Regions from separate parts of the Homo sapiens genome. Here all the other regions are linked to region 4. The links are contacts of gene promoters, found by promoter capture Hi-C in blood cells and fetal thymus (Javierre and others, 2016). All regions are on one chromosome and are shown on one strand. The core of a region is centred on a gene start or on the middle of the fragment in contact, and the rest is flanking DNA. Distances in the headings are between cores, read along the strand shown.

Evidence for each region. The method cuts DNA at HindIII sites, captures the fragments that hold promoters and counts their contacts. A CHiCAGO score of 5 or more calls a contact.
Region 1: a fragment that was not itself captured here is called in contact with the fragment with the promoter of GALC in region 4 in 4 of 17 cell types (total B cells, non-activated CD4 T cells, activated CD4 T cells and 1 more); the score reaches 5.7 in total B cells.
Region 2: a contact is called between a fragment that was not itself captured here and the fragment with the promoter of GALC in region 4, in 1 of 17 cell types (total B cells). The highest score is 6.2, in total B cells.
Region 3: a contact is called between the fragment with the promoter of TSHR here and the fragment with the promoter of GALC in region 4, in 1 of 17 cell types (total B cells). The highest score is 6.5, in total B cells.
Region 5: a contact is called between a fragment that was not itself captured here and the fragment with the promoter of GALC in region 4, in 1 of 17 cell types (total CD4 T cells). The highest score is 5.2, in total CD4 T cells.

What each region holds. Positions count from the first base shown.
Region 1 is chr14:93,961,916-93,964,615 of GRCh38, reverse strand. ASB2 (ankyrin repeat and SOCS box containing 2) reads left to right here. Exons shown (of 10, transcript NM_001202429.2): 2 at 4-282. The coding sequence starts at 77. Among named protein-coding and RNA genes, the nearest start is that of ASB2, 13 kb to the left of the region's middle. RefSeq lists enhancers at 1,133-1,633, 1,634-2,134. The HindIII fragment of the contact is 4,504 bases long and covers 1-2,700 here.
Region 2 is chr14:93,334,564-93,337,263 of GRCh38, reverse strand. It overlaps a transcript of UNC79 not described here. Among named protein-coding and RNA genes, the nearest start is that of BTBD7, 2.9 kb to the right of the region's middle. The HindIII fragment of the contact is 3,744 bases long and covers 1-2,700 here.
Region 3 is chr14:80,954,286-80,956,985 of GRCh38, reverse strand. It overlaps TSHR (thyroid stimulating hormone receptor), which reads right to left and starts at 1,365. Exons shown (of 10, transcript NM_000369.5): 1 at 1,136-1,365. The coding sequence starts at 1,305. It also overlaps a transcript of CEP128 not described here. The HindIII fragment of the contact is 2,816 bases long and covers 1-2,562 here.
Region 4 is chr14:87,991,767-87,994,466 of GRCh38, reverse strand. It overlaps GALC (galactosylceramidase), which reads left to right and starts at 1,285. Exons shown (of 17, transcript NM_000153.4): 1 at 1,285-1,497. The coding sequence starts at 1,303. RefSeq lists enhancers at 948-1,277, 972-1,472 and a silencer at 1,428-1,617. The HindIII fragment of the contact is 1,583 bases long and covers 722-2,304 here.
Region 5 is chr14:80,934,843-80,937,542 of GRCh38, reverse strand. The region is part of intron 2 of CEP128 (centrosomal protein 128); the gene reads left to right. Among named protein-coding and RNA genes, the nearest start is that of CEP128, 5.5 kb to the left of the region's middle. The HindIII fragment of the contact is 652 bases long and covers 931-1,582 here.

The DNA of each region.
Region 1 (2,700 bases), core at 42-2,541, 6.0 Mb before region 4:
CAGGGTTTTCTGATTTGCTGTTCCCTCCTCCCCACTGGGTGTCTGTTCTGGAGGCCAGGGTGAGAGGTGGAGGAGGATGGCCACGCAGATCAGCACTCGGGGCAGCCAGTGTACCATTGGGCAGGAGGAGTACAGCCTGTACAGCAGCCTGAGCGAGGATGAACTGGTGCAGATGGCCATCGAGCAGAGCCTAGCGGACAAGACAAGGGGCCCAACCACTGCTGAGGCCACCGCGTCTGCATGTACCAACCGCCAACCTGCCCATTTCTACCCATGGACCAGGTGAGCAAGGCGAGGCTGATGAGGGAAGTGGGGCCATCCAGGACATCCACAGACTGTAGATCCCTAATGCTGTTAATCCAAAACCACGGTATCCTGGTCTCTAGGTTGCTTTTCACACCTTTCCCATTTACATTTGTTATCTGAACTTACCAAGCTCTGGCTGTGCCAGGTACTGAAGTGGGTGCTATACACACTCTGCCTCCTTTCATCCGCTTAAGGACCCTCTCAGTGGGCTCTGGGTTATAGACCCATTTAAAAGAGGAGACTGAAGCTCAGGGCTGAAAAAGAGGCCCGAGGTCACATAGCCAGTAGATAATGCTGCCGAGATCAGAGCTGCCTGGCTCCCTATCTTACAACACAGCCTCCCTTGAAAAACATATCTGGTGAGCAAGGGATGTCTGCCCAGCAGAGCCATCCTGTCTCCTTCTTCTGGCTCCCCACTCTCAGCCCCACCTCATCCTCTCAGTCACAGGACTTTCTAAAGCAGCGCCATCCAGATATGACACCACCCACAACTGCAATGCACGGATGCAATTTTAAAGGTTCCAACAGCCAAAAAAGTAAAGAGAAACAGGTGAAATTAATTTTCATTGATAGTTCACATCTGAAGTATCACCATTTCCACCAAGAGACTTATATTTCCATCAATATAAAATTATGAATCAGATTGTTACCATTTCTTTTTGCCCATCAAGTCTTTGAAATCCAGTGTGTATTTTACACTCACAGCCCATCTTGATTCAGACTGGCCACGTTTCAAGCGCTCCCTAGCACATGTGGCCAATGACTACCTTATCAGACGGTGCAGATCTAGACGACACCTCCTTTGTAGGAGGTGGGAGCTAGAGAGGTGATTAAGCAGAGCGGTGATTGATCTCAAAATGCATTTGGAAAAGACCTCTATAAGCCATAAAATTGCTTTTGCTCCTCACCCCCGTCCCCAGCCAAGGTCAAGTGTGTTTGGGCATGAATGGCAGGGCATGGGAATTGCTGTGACAATTGTGTTGGTGTTACTTTGAGGCATAGGCCACAAATCTCATTGTGTACAGCAGCCAGCTGGCTCCCTGCGTGACCTCAGGCAAGTCACTTAACCTCTGAAAACCTCAGCTTCCTTCTCAAATAACAACAACAACAAACAGACTTTTTCCGATGTGCAGTCACAGTTGACAGGGGATGAAGGTGGGTGATGGTGCATCTCAGCCCTGTCCCCTAAGTGACTTTGCCCTTGCCGAGGCTGGACCATCTCTGTCAGGCTGGCTGGGCAGAGGCCCAGAGCTGAGGAGCCCCTTTTAAAGGGGAAGGCAGGCAGCTACTTTGGGCAGCCGGAAAGAGTACGAAGACTCCAGGTTACTAAGCTGCCCCCGAGGACGTTCCATTCTGAAACCCAATCTGAGAAACAGAAACCTGAAGCCAAGGACTGGGTTCATCTTGGCTCATGCTCAAGGTGGCCCTGGTTCCTGTTCTGGCCGGTTCAGCGGAAGACAGGCCACAAGTTCCTCTTCCTCAGGAGGGGGTCAGATAGAGATAGGGCATCCTTCCTCTGAAGACAGGGCCTGCTGCATGAAGCCAGCACGTCCCCTCAGGTGTCTGCAGCCTTCTCCCCAGCATAGGAGCCCCCTCAGGAGTCCCAGGGATGCTTGGACACATTAGAAAGAAGTGGGCCCTCGGCATCCAGACCCTGACTCTGCCTTCATCTGGAGGGTAAGGAAATGGAGGCCCACAGTGGGCCATGAACATTTATTCAGCTTCCTGCGGAAAAAGCTCTCCTAGAGAATTGAGACCATTTCTCCCAGGTCGAGCAGCCCTCATCTGAGGTCCAGCCCCACAAGCAATATAGCAGAGGAGGGTCAACCTGCATCTTGTTACTCTAGGAGTGACCTGAAACCTCCTAGGTTCGGTTCTGCGCCTTCGCCTCTGGAAGGAGGCTGGGCTTGGGCCCTGCTGGGAAGAAAAACCCCTTAGATAGAATGTTTAGGCGGATCACGAGGTCGGGAGATCGAGACCATCCCGGCTAAAACGGTGAAACCCCGTCTCTACTAAAAATACAAAAAATTAGCCGGGCGTAGTGGCGGGCGCCTGTAGTCCCAGCTACTTGGGAAGCTGAGGCAGGAGAATGGTGTGAACCCGGGAGGCGGAGCTTGCAGTGAGCCGAGATCCCGCCACTGCACTCCAGCCTGGGCGACAGAGCGAGACTCCATCTCAAAAAAAAAAAAAAAAAAAAAAAAAGAATGTTTAATGAAATTCTTCTCCCCCCAAATGCACATTGAGCACCTCCCATGTGCCTGCCACACATTAATTCACTTAATGTTTACAAAAGCCACCCAAAGTGGATTGCTTCTGTGCCCATTTTACAGACGACAAAACATGCCCACAGCAGGGCCAGGCATGGAACCAAAGTCTGTCCCGCTCTGAAGTTCA
Region 2 (2,700 bases), core at 49-2,548, 5.3 Mb before region 4:
GTGCGTAGACTCTATGAGTCTGTGAGTTAGGCTGGGTCTGGGGGTTTTTATTGGCTCAGAATGAAGTGCATGCTGATTGGTCCATGGGCAGGAAGAAATGCATGCTAATTGGTCTGTGGGCGGGCCTGGAAAAAGCACTACTTTATTGGCTGAAAGGCATCAAGGAAGTTCTCACTCCAGGTCGTGGACTTCACTGGGAACTGGCAGCCTGGCCCCCAGGCTTTAGGCCATCTCTGGTTTGAAGGTGGGGTTTCACCAGGGACCCACCCCTTCCCACCTAGGAACCTGTCTGCCTCCCACCACCATCACAAGGGGATAGTGTGAAGCCATTCATGAGGGATCTGCCTTCATGATCCAAACACCTCCCACCAGGTCCCACTTCCAACACTGGCGATTACATTTCAACATGAGATTTGGAGGGGACAAACATCCAAACCATATCAGTACATTTTGATGCACTTAAGTTCATATTTTAAATACAGTTGAATCTATGAATCTTGTCTTCATGATTAATGTTTTCTGTGACTTGCTTGTCTTTTCTTCCCCAAGGCAATGAATATTTTCCAATATTATTTTCTAAAACCTTTATTAATTGTATTATTTGTTAATTTAATAATTATTAAGGCCATGTGCAGTGGCTCACGCCTGTAATCCTAGCACTTTGGGAGGCCAAGGTGGGCGGATCACGAGGTCAGGAGTTTGAGACCAGCCTGGCCAACATGGTGAAACCCTGTCTCTACTAAAAATACAAAAAATTAGTCAGGCATGGTGGCACGCACCTGTAATCCCAGCTACTCGGGAGGCTGAGGCAGGAGAATCACTTGAACCCAGGAGGCGGAGGTTGCACTGAGCTGAGATTGCGTCATTGCACTCCAGCCTGGGTGACAGAGCAAGACTCTGTCTCAAGAAAAAAAAAAATTGAAAATTGAATAATTATTAAGCACTTCTTAATTAAGCATCTACAAGGTACTTATCACTGTTCTGGGGTTTTCAATCCTCTTCACCTTTTAGACTTCAGGAAATTCAGAAAAATGCATGAAAACAGGATTGTTACATGCAGAGAAATAGGGGGAGATAAAATTTGTCTTTTCTCCTTAATTTCAAAAACCCAGCTTCCATCCTGTATTTCCAGGAAGATGAGTGTGGGAATGGGTTTCAGTGGATGGTTATGTGTGGTAAAAAAGGGGGGTACAAAGGAAGGAAAAGACTGGAGTGACAGACCATGGAATATACCATGAAATGTTGATTACTCTTATTTTCAACATAGATGACCAGGTGGATGGGATGCCATTCACTGATGGAGGGAGTGGAGAAAGGAACAAAACATAAATTCAGGACTTTTGGTTGAAAGCCACAGAAGTTCACTGTTTTTACCCATTTCCAACTAACTTAAGATAAAAAGAGGTGTTAGGGCAACTTAATGGCTTCTAAAAATGAAAAGACCAGGGATGGGTTGGTTTCAGGCCCAGGTAGGCCCAGGTATTCAAATGATGTCATGGTTTTCCTTTCTCTCACTTTGTTTCTTTGTTTATGGTCTTCCTCCTTTCCTACCGCACATGGCTTTCTCCTCATTGGCAAACAAAGCCAATTTACATGTCCTTTCGAGTCATAATCCCGGAGAAATAGAGTAAGAAGAAACATCTCCTCTGAGAGTGTGGCAAAAATTTCCAGAAAAGGTTCTGGTTGACCTATTTGTGTCATATGGCCATCCAGATCTATCTGATTCTAGAATGCATGCTGTTAACCACTACTTAGTACCATCTTAACACTAGCCTTAAAAAAATGTTTTTCACTCTGTCTTCTTATTTAGATTCTAAGCTCCTTAAGTACAAAGATCCATTTATTTTTTACCCCCAGCATGTAGTACCGTGCTTGGCACATGGTACTGGATACTTTAAATGTGTATCGGACTGAACTAAAATAAACATCTAAATTCTGATGAGTGTGTAAACTGAGCTAATTCAGGATCTCAAAAGTACAGTTAAATGGTATAATAAGGAAACAGTGAATGAATTAAAGGGTAGAAAAAAATCATGGATCACTTACAAATGGTTTCTAGATCCAAACAGTCTACTAGAAGTCTCCAGCTGTGCAGATAGACAAAAGGACAAGGTGCAACCAGCAGACCTTACTTGGCTTTTCAAAAAGTTTTAGATTTCCACATCAAAGGCTGTTAGAAAAAGTGTTATCCTGAAATTACTTAGAATTCTATTGTTGTTGATACCATTTTAATTTTGTTTTTTAAATTGTGGCTAGGAAATAGAAGCAAAGTCAAGTAATAAAGGTTAGTAATAAGTGTAAACAGTGGGGACTGATCTTATTTAACATTTCCATAAATTATAAAGAAGCAGTGTTTACACACCGCTTTTTAGTTTGCTAATCATAGCTCTTTCAGTTAATGCAATACAGTCATCCCCCATATACTATATACGTGGGATTGGTTCCAGGACCCACCACATATACCCCAATCCAAGCATACTCAAGTCTGCCTGTCCGTCCTGTGGAATGTGAGTATAAGAAAAGTCGGCCCTCTCAATACGGTGTTTAGAATCCCATGTACCAGGTTGCATTGATCGATCCGCACAGTTCAAACCCGTGTTGTTCAAGTGTTAACTGTATTTAGCAAATTAAGACAAAGGTAAAATGATGGAAAATAACAGTAAATGGCTTGAATTTAGATAAGGTTCACTTACGCCTTTG
Region 3 (2,700 bases), core at 116-2,615, 7.0 Mb after region 4:
TAGAGGTGACAAGCAACCTATGTAGAGGTGTAATCAAGAGGCCATTACACCTTTTACACATCTTATTCTGTGGTGGCAGCATGGAGAATGACTACCACACTGTTTGGAGGTTATTGAACTAATTAATTCAGGTGTGCTAAGACACTAGGATATCTCTGAGCACAGAAATATATCTCTGTGCTCAAATATTCATCTACTGTTAAATAGTCTTCATGAGCTAAATTCTTGAGAAAATCTAGAGGTGCAACTTTCCCATTTCTTTTCATCTATCAACATTTTCTTTAATAACCTGCATTTTTTTTTATCTTAACTGGATTTAACCAGCCTAGGTTGTTTTACTGTCCTTTCTTTCTGTTCTCTTTTTAACTAATCAAGACAGACTTTATTCCCTTGGTTTTGTCTACAATTTCAATGATCACTGATTTAAATTGCTGTTAAGAAACAGGTTGTGTGTGTATAATCTTATTTAACATCAGGTTTCTAATCTGGTAACATTTAACATGCAGATAAATGTACTATACTTTTATGAAATTTCATTTCTTTATACCTCTATCACAAAGCAGGGTTCTGGACGTACTATTTCACTGGCAGTTCACATTTGAGTAAGTAACTTACAGATACTGTATAGACAGTTCATTTTAAAAAGGGCCCCTGCTTAAACCTTTGTCAACAATTTGATGAATCAGCAGAACTGCTAAGATAACCTCCCATCTAGAGAAACAAAAAGGAGAAATACATATTTTTGCAATTTTTTATTACCCAAGGTAAGATCAAAAAGGTCAGTTCCTGAGATGCCATTATCCTTATTAATTCAAATAAAACAGATTCAACCAGGGTTAGGCAAAGTGCTGAATAGCAGCTTGTTGGAAAGAACAGCTCTCACGGTCATTGTACACCAAAGTTTTGTAACATTTTCCTGTGTTGGGAATGAGGATGTCAACAATGATACCTTCCCAAGTGTGGGCGATTAAGTTTTTAGCACACACACACATCTACACACACAGACATTCACTCACACATACACACACTCACACACTACTTCGGGCTGTTATTGAGCTGCTTTTGTGCACTTCGGGCCACCTCTGCAGATGCCCTTGATCTCTGGGTCCTACCCTGATCTCTCCCGGGTACTCACAGAGTCTGCGTACTGGGCGGTAAGCTGGGGATGCGTTGAATATCCTTGCAGGTGACTCTGAAGTCCTCCTCCTGATGGCACTCGCAGGGTGGAGACGAACACCCCATTCCGCCCAGGTCCCTGGGCAGGTCGAGCAGCAGCACCAGCTGCAGCAAGTCCGCCGGCCTCATTTTCCACGGGACTCGGGGCTATTTCTCCATCCTCCGAAATCGCCTCATTCTCAGCTCTGCACCTCGGGTTACCCCAGGCCAAAGGAGACCCGGGAGCGGGAGGGGTGGGAAGAGGGAGGGCTCCAAGGGGCTGTGACCTCACCACTGTGGAGGAGGCTGGAGAAGGGGAAAAAGAGGCACTTAAGTGCTCCGCTTCCCTAGGCAACCTTGACCCAAACAAGTCTGCTTGCTTCACTTTCCTTGGCTGGACCCACGCAGTCCGCTCCGTCTGTTCCCTGACACCCAACACCAGTCCTGGCTGTCCCCTCTGTTTTCCAGCCCGCCCCCCCACCCCGGGCGCCCCTCCCATTAGTTCTCTCCAAAGCCTAGTTTAGATGCCCCCTCCTTTCCTCCTCTTTAAATCCAAGGAGCCACCTTCCCTAGCGTGTAGCCTTCTAGACACCCTGTCTGCCTGGGAGCCACTCGCACGCACTCCTTATCCAGAGAAAGTCCCCGCGGAGTGGACTGTCCGCGGGCGGACCAATGTCCTGCAGAACTTCAGCTCCTCCTGGCCAGAGACACCTCTGCTGAGGGTCAGAGGCGGGCACGCAGCCCTGGCTAGCCCGCGGTGCGGCCGAAGCCGTCGCCCTGCACCCCTGGAGGATTCTCGTTGCTATCCAACTGCAGGGGCCACTCCGGTGGTTGAGTCGACTGGCAGCGGCCGCCTCACGTTGCAGCCCGCGGCTCCGCGAGGCAATTCAGGAACTGAACTTTGGGGCCATCTGCTGGGAAGAATCGGGAATGGCAGAAATAATTCCAGGTTCCCTTAATAATGGGTCCAGTATGGAAATTCTGGTCGACCCAAGAATTTCATTGAGTCATATTCCCCCTGGAAGATGGGAAGAAAAATAATACTTAAGTGGCATACTCACCATTCTTCGCACAGTAGCCAAAAAGATCATTACAAACATAAATCAGATTGTGCCTATTTCCTTCTTAAAAGTCTTCAATCACTTATTCCTCTTGGGATAAAAGGAATGTCAATTCCTTCTATACTGCATAATTCCTTTTATATGAACTTGGCTAGGACAGGAAGGAAAAAGTTGTGGTTATGGGAATCAGAATAAAGGTTAGGAAAGATTGACTAGAAAAAGACAGGAGGGAACACACAGGGTTTCCATATCGTAATTAGGCTGGAGGTTAAGTGGATGTATACATTTATCAAAATTCATTAAACCGTACATTTAAAATATGTGTATTCCAAATTTTACAGAAGCTTTATTCATAACCACTAAACGAACCAAGTGTCTCGCGACTAGATAATGGATAAACAAACTCTGATACCTCCACATTGGAATACTATTCTGCAATAAAAATGAATGAACTGCTGATACAACATGCACAAATTTTCTTTTC
Region 4 (2,700 bases), core at 36-2,535:
CTTCTGCTAAGAGAAATTTGGGGATCAGAAAATCTTTCTCTGCAGCTCTTCAGAGTCTCTTTAATTTACTTCAATAACAAGGAAATCAGAAATCTCAGGACAGTGCTGGATGTGGCAGAAATTCAGGGCAATTCACAACTTTCCTACCAATTTAGAGTTACCTGTCTGGAATCACTTCAACTGACAGTGGAAGATAGTTTATAAAATTGTAGGGGAGGCAAAATTTCACCTTCGTCCCTGTAGGGTCCCAGCATGGCCCTAGTATTAAATTGATTTAAGATATTAATAGACTGACAGGAGACAACCACACAAATGTTTATTTTACATAGCACGGGGGCCCTCATTAAAAAAAAAAAAGACCTAAAGCAGCAGTTAAGAGCCAATTGCTTATAGAGTGAAATGGACAAAAAATAGTAGTTGTGAAACATGATAAGGCGAAGGGGCTTGGGGTAAAGAAGCGACTAGAAAGATAGGGATTAACAAATTTTGTTTGGACAGATTTCCCTCGACTTCAACTTTCTGTCCTTGAAGATAACAATGTTATTTTATAGGGAAGACATCTTTCACATGGGAATTTCATCTCCTCCTTTTAAGACACATAATATCCATGACAGTGATCTTGCACCTGCTGTTTTTAAGTGCCTTTAATTTAAAATAGTCAATATGCCACAGCAGCATATTTTGAGGTGGTATATTATTAACTCCTTCAAGGCTAAAAGCTTTGAATATGCCGGGGTAGTTACCAGACTGGAGAACCTTCTCAGCTATTTGCCACTTGTGGAATGCATTCAAATGTACTGAGTGCTTATTAACTTTTCTCTCAGTCCCTCACTCTGCTGCTCTTCTCGCCTCATCTCACATAAGGGAAAACTCAGGCTCCAAAAGCAAAGTGATTCCACCAAGATGACAATGGAATCGGGACCTGGTGTCCAAGCCTGGTCCTCGCACGAGGTAGATACTCCCTGAGATGCTGGGGAAGAGCCATGGTAGGGCCACTCATGGCCCTCTTCCTTTGGCGGACCTTGGAATCCACCTTCCCTGCGTTAAAGTGCTCCACCAGGTGACGCCGGAAGAGAAGCCAGCAGTAAGTACATGTGAAATCCAGTAGCTGACCACAGACACGCGAGCGATAAGAAAAAGCTCGCTGCTTCTTTTCTCAACACTCCGCCAGCTGCGTCAGAGGCCCTTGACCCGCACTCAAAATGGCGGCGGCGGCGTCAGCATCAGCGGCCTCCTGCCCGTATCTATCGTGGCGGCGACGGGACCCGCCTCCCTGGGCGCCGGAGTCATGTGACCCACACAATGGCTGAGTGGCTACTCTCGGCTTCCTGGCAACGCCGAGCGAAAGCTATGACTGCGGCCGCGGGTTCGGCGGGCCGCGCCGCGGTGCCCTTGCTGCTGTGTGCGCTGCTGGCGCCCGGCGGCGCGTACGTGCTCGACGACTCCGACGGGCTGGGCCGGGAGTTCGACGGCATCGGCGCGGTCAGCGGCGGCGGGGTGAGCGGCAAGCTGCGGGGATACGCGGGGGGCGGCAAGAGCCCGCCCCGTGGGGCCAGCCCCACAAGCCCCCGCGGCGTTGCCCTGCGTTTCCACCGGCTCCACTCTCCGCCGCATTCCCCTAGGGTGCCAGTCAGCAGGCGGTTGGGGCGGGCCCGCTGCGGGGCTGGGGCGGGTGCTTTCTCGTTTAACACGAACCAGACAGGCAGTTAGGTTTGAACAAATGAGGATCCGGAGGTCCAGAGAGTATAGGTGCAGAGAGTAAAGTGACAGGTCTAAGTAGTGAAGTAGCCGGGGCTGGAACCCTCGTCCCAGGCAGTGGGGCACAGGCTGTCTTCATCGCGGAGATGGCAGTCGGGGAGCGTCGCTCCAGAAAGGGCCAGGGAGTGCGGGAGCGTCCGTGTGCGAAAGAGAACGCCCCAGTGGGATGCTTTGGCTGTGTCTCTCCCTTTTGGAGGAGTTGGTGGGTGGTGGAGTCGTTAAGTCCCGTGCAGTTGTTAGTGCAGGGTAAGAATGGGCTCCTCCAGAGAGGGTAGCGCCGAATAGGATTTCGTTTGGAGGCAGGACTGGTGCCTCAAGGTCTCTTTAAAAGGAAGATAAGCGAGCGGCCTGAAACTACCGGGTACTCCCTCTGGGCCCATGGGCTTCATGGTGGCCGACCTTTGGGTGAGAAGGTTTTTGTTTTTTGGTTTTGTATCCGAAATTACATCTAGGGCTAATGTTTCTTGAAAATGTTAAGGTTGAACTCGGATTTTTGGGGTTGAGTTGGATGGAGCTTGCATCCTTACATTCAACTCAGAACAAGCTTGAATGCCTGCTGCAAGGATGACCTGGTCTGTAGTGTGACCACAAGATATAACCTTCTGCTAGGGGAAATTTTTTTCCCCCTGGAGTTAGCTGATCCTTTTTGATTTTTATGTTTTCATTCCCTAATTTGCAATCTCTCCAGCCGTGCTGATGTGTATTTCAGGGGAAACCTGTGGGCCGATGAGTTAATGCATTTATTCTTTGCTACTACTATTCTCCTTTTTATGTTTTTGGGCTAAACCTGAAACAGCCAATATTTCATGGAGTGAGGCCCCATCTTTTTTATAGCTTTACTTGTGATACTATATCTAGGGTAAGAGCTTACCGAAAAATGGAAGTCTTTGTTTCCATTAGGTTTATTAAGCCCAGTTTAAAATTACTAAGATGAGAAGAATC
Region 5 (2,700 bases), core at 7-2,506, 7.1 Mb after region 4:
ACAACTGTAAAAAAATTCATTCACTCTGTTGCCCAGGCTGGAGTGAATGAATGTGCTCATGGATGAATGGATGAGTGAATTAAAATTTCTGAAGAATTTCTACAGTGAAATTCTTATGCATATGTCTATACATAAAATATATATAAATATTTTATCTTCCTAGGTTAATAGTCATAGAAATAGATTTTCTGGGTCAACGTCTATGTATATTACAGATTGATTGAGACAGGGTCTCACTCTGTCACCCAGGCTGAAGTGCAGTGGTGCTATCTTGGCTCACTGTAGCCTCTACCTCCCAGGTTTGAGAAATCCTCTCACATCAGCCTCCCGAGTAGTTAGGACTACAGGTGTGCACTACCACACCTGGCTAATTTTGTTTTATTTTTTTGTAGAGACAAGGTCTCACTGTGTTGCCCAGGCTCATCTCGAACGCTTGGGCTCAAGCAATCCTCCTACCTTGGCCTCCCAAAATACTGTGATTACAGGCATGGGCCACTGCGCCTGGCCCGTATTATTTATTTTTACTTGTATTGCCAGGTTGTTCTCCAGAAAAGCTAATGTGGTTTTTTTTTTTTAAATTTTTAATTTTTGTGGGTACATAGTAGATATACATGCTAATGTAGTTTTTATAGTTAATACTCTTACAACAAGGTATAACCTTGCTAACCCTGCGAGTGAGAGGTTTTTTCATCTGTATAAAACAGATAGATAAGAATATCATTTTATTATTTTAATTTGTAATTATTTAGTGAAATAACAAATAACATTTGTTAGGGTCATTTGATTTCTGTGAATTGTCTGCTTATGTATCTTTTGAGTCTTTTACAACTGGACTGTTCTTTTTCTTGTGTTTTTGAAAGAGCTGATTAACCCTTTGGTTCCCATATAATGCAAATATTTTTGTGAGTTTTTCTTTTAGTTTTTAAAGCTTGTTTCTGGTATCTTGTTATCACTAATTATGAATGACTCAGAGACTTGTCAGGCCTTTATCGGATATGCACACCTCTCTGAAATTTCTATAATGCTAGTGCTTGGGGTATTTGGGAGATGGGAGTATTTGTGGTTACATGAATCCATTTAATTCATTCTGATAAACATTTTCCCATCCCTCCTTCCCTCCTTCCCTGTCTTCCTTCCTTCCTCTCTTTCTCTCTTTCTTTTGAGATGAAGTCTTGTTCTGTAACTCATGCTGGAGTGCAGTGGTGTCATCTTGGATCACTGCAGCCTCGACCTCCCAGGTTCAAGTGATCCTCCCACTTTGGCCTGTCAAAGTGCTGTGATTGCAGGCCTGAGCCACTGTGCCTGGCCTGATAAACATTTAGAATCTACTCTGCATACAGGGTTTGCTGTGAAACAGGTGCTCATGAATGGATGAATAAGTGCTTGTGAACGAATGTGCTCATGAATGAATGGATGAGCTTTAATTCTGTACTTCCCAGGCACTGGTCCATTTGATTCTGTCTCCTGCTCTGAAGTGCTGGAGCAGGGTGGACTCCTGATGAAATTAGAGCAAAAATACAGCCTGGAACTGAGCCTGCTAGGTTTTGGTTATGGAATAGAGATGTCTGTGTGTAAGAAAGCTTTCTACTTTTTTGAGTTTGGGCAAGTTAACTTTTGGAAGTTGTTTCCTTACCTGTCATATTGATTACAGCTATGTTTACTCTAGGGCTACTGTTGGGGTTACATTAGTTAATACAAGTAAAGTGCTTAGAACAGAGCCTGGCACAGAAAAGGGCCATTTAATTGTTGAATTATTAGTATTATTGCTTATTTTGGCTTCTACCATGATGACCACCACCACCACTACCATCATTATTGTATTCTTTAAAAACGATTAATTTCTGTTTCACTTAAGCTAGCTCATGTGTGTTCTGTTTTTTTTTTTTTTTTTTTTTTGGTGGGGGGACTCATAGCTTGAATACAACAATAAGTACTTTATTTTTATTTATTTATTTATTTATTTATTTATTTATTTATTTATTTATTGAGACAGACTCTTACTCTGTCTTACTCCAGAAGGCTGGAGTGCAGTGGTGCAATCTCGGCTCACTGCAACCTCTGCCTTCTGGGTTCAAACAATTCTCCTGCCTCAGCCTCTCAAATAGCAGGGATTACAGGTGCTCAGCACCACACCCAGCTAATTATTGTAGTTTTAGTAGAGGCAGGGTTTCACCATGCTGGCCAGGCTGGTCTTGAACTCCTGACCTCAAGTGATCCACCCACCTTGGCCTCCAAAAGTGCTGGGATTATAGGCATGAGCCACTGTGCCCAGCCAAGCACTTTATTCTTATCAGCTTATTTTGCTTTTAGGGAAGAGTACCTTTACTCATTGGTATACCTGTTTTTCATTTGTTTGTTTGTTTTTGTTTTTTGCTTTCTCACCACTGCCATTTACATGTAACAAGTGTACTGATTAAAAAGTTGGGTTTCGGAAATAGTCTTCTTGCCTGGATTTGAATCCTGGCTCTGCCACTTAAGTTACTTTGCTCCTTTAAGCCTTAGTTCTGTTTTCTGTAAAATGGGGATGATAATAATAATGTTATGAGGATCAAATGAGAGAGCATACATAAAGCACTTAGTACAGAAATTAGTCCATAGGAAACTGTAAATCAATAGCTATTATTATTTCAATAAAGTTGAACATTATTATGCCTTTGTATAAATGTAAGCAAGTAATATACCAGTTATAGTCTCATAATT